Regions from separate parts of the Homo sapiens genome. Here region 1 is linked to region 2. Evidence: promoter capture Hi-C in human tissues and cell types (Jung and others, 2019). All regions are on one chromosome and are shown on one strand. Each heading gives the region's core, a stretch centred on a gene start or on the middle of the fragment in contact. The rest is flanking DNA. Distances are from core to core; before and after follow the strand shown.

The links. Contacts are between HindIII fragments. The study calls those that stand out against the background at their distance.
Region 1: a contact is called between a fragment that was not itself captured here and the fragment with the promoter of MRI1 in region 2, in 1 of the 25 tissues and cell types used here (mesendoderm cells).

What each region holds. Positions count from the first base shown.
Region 1 is chr19:13,910,035-13,912,828 of GRCh38, forward strand. CC2D1A (coiled-coil and C2 domain containing 1A) reads left to right here. Exons shown (of 29, transcript NM_017721.5): 3 at 2,289-2,404; 4 at 2,494-2,559. Among named protein-coding and RNA genes, the nearest start is that of CC2D1A, 5.2 kb to the left of the region's middle. The HindIII fragment of the contact is 5,078 bases long and covers 1-2,794 here.
Region 2 is chr19:13,763,144-13,765,843 of GRCh38, forward strand. MRI1 (methylthioribose-1-phosphate isomerase 1) reads left to right here and starts at 1,379. Exons shown (of 6, transcript NM_001031727.4): 1 at 1,379-1,577; 2 at 1,728-1,966. The coding sequence starts at 1,446. It overlaps YJU2B (YJU2 splicing factor homolog B), which reads left to right. Exons shown (of 10, transcript NM_030818.4): 10 at 1-146. RefSeq lists enhancers at 1-106, 2,576-2,700 and a silencer at 1,749-1,798. The HindIII fragment of the contact is 13,832 bases long and covers 1-2,700 here.

The DNA.
Region 1 (2,794 bases), core at 102-2,601, 150 kb after region 2:
GTAGGTAGGGGAAAGAAGACAGAGAAGACCCCTGTTCTCCTGGAGCCAATGATCTGGGTAAGAGAGTCAAGATCGACTCTGAGGCCGGGCACGGTGGCTCACGCCTGTAATCCCAGCACTTTGGGAGGCCGAGGCAGGCAGATCATGAGGTCAGGAGATTGAGACCATCCCGGCTAACACGGTGAAACTCTGTCTCTACTAAAAATACAAAAAAAAAAAAAAAATTAGCCGGGCGTGGTGGCGGGCGCCTGTAGTCCCAGCTACTCAGGAGGCTGAGGCAGAAGAATGGCGTGAACCAGGGAGGCGGAGCTTGCAGTGAGCCGAGATCGCACCACTGCGCTACAGCCTGGGCGACAGAGCAAGACTCCGTCTCAAAAAAAAAAAAAAAAAAAAAAAGATCAAGTCTGGACCGAGACTGAGAGTTGGAATCCGAGCTCTGCCACTTACTGGTTATGTGACTTGATGAGTCACATCATGTGCTTTGGCCTCAGTTTCACCATCTGTAAAACTGGAATAATAACCATGTTATAGGAGTTAATCTGGAGTCCATAAGTATTTCACCCAGGGCCCCCTCACACACAATAAGCTCATGTCAGCCAGGCACATTGGCTCATGCATGTAATCCCAGCACTCTGGGAGGCCAAGGTGGACAGATCACTTGGGGCCAGGAGTTCGAGACCAGCCTGGCCAACATGGTGAAACCCTGTCTTTACTAAAAATACAAAAATTAGCCAAGCTTGGTGGCGAACACCTGTAATCCCAGCTACTTGGGAGGCTGAGGCATGAGAATCGCTTGAATCCAGGAGGCAGCAGTTGCAGTGGGCAGAGATTGCGCCACTGCACTCCAGCCTGGGTGACAGAGCAAGATCCTGTTTCCAAAAAACAAAAAAGAGAGAAGCTTCATTCAGGCATGAACTACTGTGCTGTTGGCTGTGAATTCAAAGTTAATGAATGAACGATATCTATTCAGGAAGGTGTCTTCAAACAGAAACACACATAGAGCAAGGTTGTGTATTGATCAGTTGATTAAAATTTTGTGACCAGAGCTGGGTGTGGTGGTGCATGCCTGTAATCCCAGCTACTCGGGAGGCTGAGGCAGGAAGATCACTTGAGGCCAAGAGTTTGAGGCTGCAGTGAGCTCTGATTGGGCCACTGCACTCCAGCCTGGGTGACAGAGCAAGATCCTGTCTCCAAAAAAGGTTATGACTGGAGATTCACAGGAACCTAAGCTTAAATTTCCCCTAGGAGCAACAGTCTTATAGTCATTAATTTAGTCTTCAAAGCAGCTTTATAGAATGTAACATAACTAATAACAAGATATTGGCAATATGCTATTCTAAGAGCTTCATTGACCTTCTCTGCTCCAACCTACCTATGAAGGAGGAACTGTTGTCATCCCCGTGTCACAGAGGGAGAAACTGAGGCTCAGAGAGGTGACATCACTTGCCGAAGTTCTCACAGAGAGAAAGTTGCAGAGCTGGGGTTTTTTTTGTTGTTGTTGTGTGTGTGTGTTTTTTTTTTTTTTTTTGGAGACAAACCCTTGCTCTGTTGCCCAGGCTGCAGTGCAGTGGCGCAATCTCAGCTCACTGCGACCTCTGCCTCCTGGGCTTAAGTGATTCTCCTGCCTCAGCCTCTTTAGCAGCGGGGATTACACGCCACCATGCCCAGCTAATTTTTTTTTTTTTTTTTTTTTTTTTTTGAGACGGAGTCTCGCTCTGTCGCCCAGGCTGGAGTACAGTGGCGCGATCTTGGCTCACCGCAAGCTCCGCCTCCTAGGTTCACGCCATTCCCCTGCCTCAGGCTCCCGAGTAGCTGGGACCACAGGCGCCCGCCAGCATGCCTGGCTAATTTTTTGTATTTGTAGTAGAGACGGGGTTTCACCGTGTTAGCCAGGATGGTCTCGATCTCCTGACCTTGTGATCCACCCGCCTCGGCCTCCCAAAGTGCTGGGGTTACAGGCGTGAGCCACTGCGCCCAGCCTAATTTTTGTATTTTTAGTAGAGACAGGGTTTCACCATGTTGGCCAGGCTGGTCTTGAACGCCTGACTTCAAGTGATCCTTCTGCCTCGGCCTCCCAAAGTGCTGGGATTATAGGCGTGAGTCACTGTGCCCGGTCTGCAGAGCTGGGTTTTGAATTCAGGTAGCCAGGCCCCAGACCTGAGGCTGAATAAGGAAGAGATGAAATGGGGAAGTCAGCGAGAAGTGGGATCACCTAGCGTGTCCAGGATGGGAAATGGGGGCTCTTGGTGTACGACCCTGGTCCACCTGGGGCATCCCCCTACCGCCAGGTCCCTTGCCGATGGAGGCCATTGAGAAGATGGCCAGCCTGTGCATGAGAGACCCGGATGAGGATGAGGAGGAGGGGACGGATGAGGACGACTTGGAGGCTGATGATGACCTGCTGGTGAGCACTGAGGGCGGGGTGGGGGCTCTGATCCGGTTGCCCCCATCCAGCAGGCCCTTATATCCTGCCCTGGCTGTGTGTCCCTGCAGGCGGAGCTAAATGAGGTCCTTGGAGAGGAGCAGAAGGCTTCAGAGACCCCACCTCCTGTGGCCCAGGTACAGTTTGGATGACTCCACTCCCTTGAACCACAACCCAACGGACAGCCCGGGGTTCAAGACCTAGCCTTTTTTATGAGATGGAGTCTTGCTGTGTCACCCAGGCTGGAGTGCAGTGGTGCCATCTCAGCTCACTACAACCTCTGCCTCCCAGGTTCAAGGGATCCTCCCACCTCAGCCTCCCCAGTAGCTGGGATTACAGGTGTGTGCCACCACGCCTGGCTAATTTTTGTAT
Region 2 (2,700 bases), core at 129-2,628:
CCCCGGCTCGCCCACCAGCCCTGGGAGAGCTCAGATGCCGCATCCTCCCCAGACCGCGCCTTCCTGCAACCGTGGAGTTATTTATTTGGTCCTGGTGAGGGTGTTTGTGCCTTGTGAGACTCCGTACATTAAAGACCTGTCTCTTCTTCCCTGTCTTGGGTTGTTAGATGGACCCTGGGGCTGCCCCCCCACCCCCCCACCTTGACCAAGCTTGGTAGGCCTCTCATCAGCAAATGCTGGTATAGGGTCATAGCTGTGACCACAGACATGGTCCCCTTCCAGAGTAACAAGAGTCTCAAGGTGGTGGTCCCGGTTGGCCAGGAATCAGGACAGACTTCCTGGAGGAGGAGGCATGGGCCAAGTGTGAAGGGTGAAAAGGGGGCCAGGAACCACACACACAAGGCCAGGGACAAGGCACACGGGGTACCCAGGATGTGTGCCAGATGCAGCAGGGGCTGGAGCACACAGGTGTGAGCTTTTTATTATACCCAGCCCAGGGGTGGCCCATGGAAAAGCCCCCCGTGCATGTTACTTTTGGGGTTTTTTTGTTTTGTTTTTGAGACCGAGTCTTGCTCTGTCACCCAGGCTGGAGTGCAGTGGCGCGATCTCGGCTCACTGCAACCTCTGCCTCCTGGGTTCAAGTGATTCTTCTGCCTCAGCCTCCCGAGCAGCTGGGACTACGGGTGTGCGCCACCACGCCCAGCTAATTTTTTGTATTTTTAGTAGAGACTGGGTTTCACCATGTTGGCCAGGCTGGTCTCGAACTCCTGACCTCAAGTGATCTGCCCGACTCGGCCTCCCAAAATGCTGGGATTCCAGGCGTGAGCCACAGCGCCTGTCCTGCATGTTACTTTTGAATGAAACCGAGCAGAAAATGGCCCAGAAACAGCCTTGCATCCATCAAGGGGCACACGACCCCCCACTACCTCCCCCTCAACCTTGGAAGATCATTTAACAAATTCTTTGGTTTGAACACTTGATGTTACCTTGCCACTGGGGATACATCCCTAACTCTAGACAGCAGGTTGTTAAACACGGGGCCTGGTATCCACTAGGCGTCCCATAAATGCTGCCACTTTTGTGGTTCCGAGGAGGCGGCTCACTCCGTTCGGGCTTGGCAGGAGTCGTGGAGTGGGTTCGGCCACGTGGAATCCGCGTCCTGGGAACCCGTGGAATCCGCGTCCTGGGAACCCGTGGAATCCGCCTCCTGGGAACCCGTGGAATCCGCCTCCTGGGAACCCGTGGAATCCGCCTCCTGGGAACCCGTGGAATCCGCCTCCTGGGAACCCGTGGAATCCGCCTCCTGGGAACCCGTGGAATCGGGTTGGATGCGCATGTGCGTGTCTCTTTTTCCGGGGGAGGCTCCGCCCACGGCCCCGCCCCGCTCCCAAGTGCGCGCGGACCCCTAGCTCCCTCTGAGTTGCGCTGGGCTTGGCTGCTGCACCATGACCCTGGAGGCGATCCGCTACTCGCGGGGCTCCCTGCAGATCCTAGACCAGCTGCTGCTGCCCAAGCAGAGCCGCTACGAGGCGGTGGGCTCGGTGCACCAGGCCTGGGAGGCCATCCGCGCCATGAAGGTGCAGCGGGGCGGCGGGGCGGCGGGGCGGCGGGGCGGCGGGGCGGCGGGGCGGCGGGGCGGCGGGGCGGCGGGGCGGCGGGGCGGCCGGGTTGGAGGTGGGAGTGCGCCCGCGCCTGCAGCTTCCGACGCCCAAATCCCTGCCCCGCAGGTGCGGGGCGCCCCGGCCATAGCCCTGGTGGGCTGTCTCAGCCTCGCCGTGGAGCTGCAGGCGGGCGCCGGGGGACCGGGACTCGCCGCGCTCGTGGCCTTCGTGCGCGACAAGCTGAGCTTCCTCGTCACCGCCCGGCCCACCGCTGTCAACATGGCCCGCGCCGCCCGCGACCTGGCTGATGTTGCAGCCCGGGAGGCCGAACGGGAGGGCGCTACGGAAGAGGCGGTCCGGGAGAGGTACGGGGATCTGGTACCAGGCACGGCGCTGAGCAGGAATTATATTGACTCTTTTTAAGTACAGTGACCCACTATACAGATGGGGAAACTGAGGCACGGCGACCTTAAGTCCCTTGTCCAGGGCCCCACAGATGGGGAGACTGAGGCACGGCGACCTTAAGTCCCTTGTCCAGGGCCCCACAGATGGGGCCCAGAGTCTAGCCTGGGCAGCCTGGCCCTGAAACCTAACTCCTTAATCGTGCCTCCCCTGAATACACGCAGCCCCTTATCCGCCCTTGGAGGCCCTTTTTAGTATCTCCGTGTTCTCTTGGTTTCTGCTTTTGAGGAACTTTTTTTCCTGTCCTGGTCCCCTTCCTGCCATCTTTTTCCCCCCACTTCCTTTCTGCTCCAGCCCTCCCTGCAATGTCACTTTACCCCACCAAGCTCGAGCCTGCCTTACAGCCTTTGCACGTGCCATTGGTGCGGGCCAGGTATCCATAGCGCCCTCCTCCACCATTCTATATGATCCAGCTCACCCGCTGCTCTCTGTTGCCTGATTCTGCCGGCTTTTCCTTCATTTTATTATCTCTTCATCAGCTGGCTCACTCACCCCAGTGTCAACTCCACAGGAGCAGAGATTTTTGTCTTGTTTACTGCTGGGTCATACCGGAACTGCTTGGTAAACATGTCTTTGCATGAATGAACGGAGTGACACTTCGGTGGCCCTGGCCGAAGGGTCCAGGCCCCACAGCAAT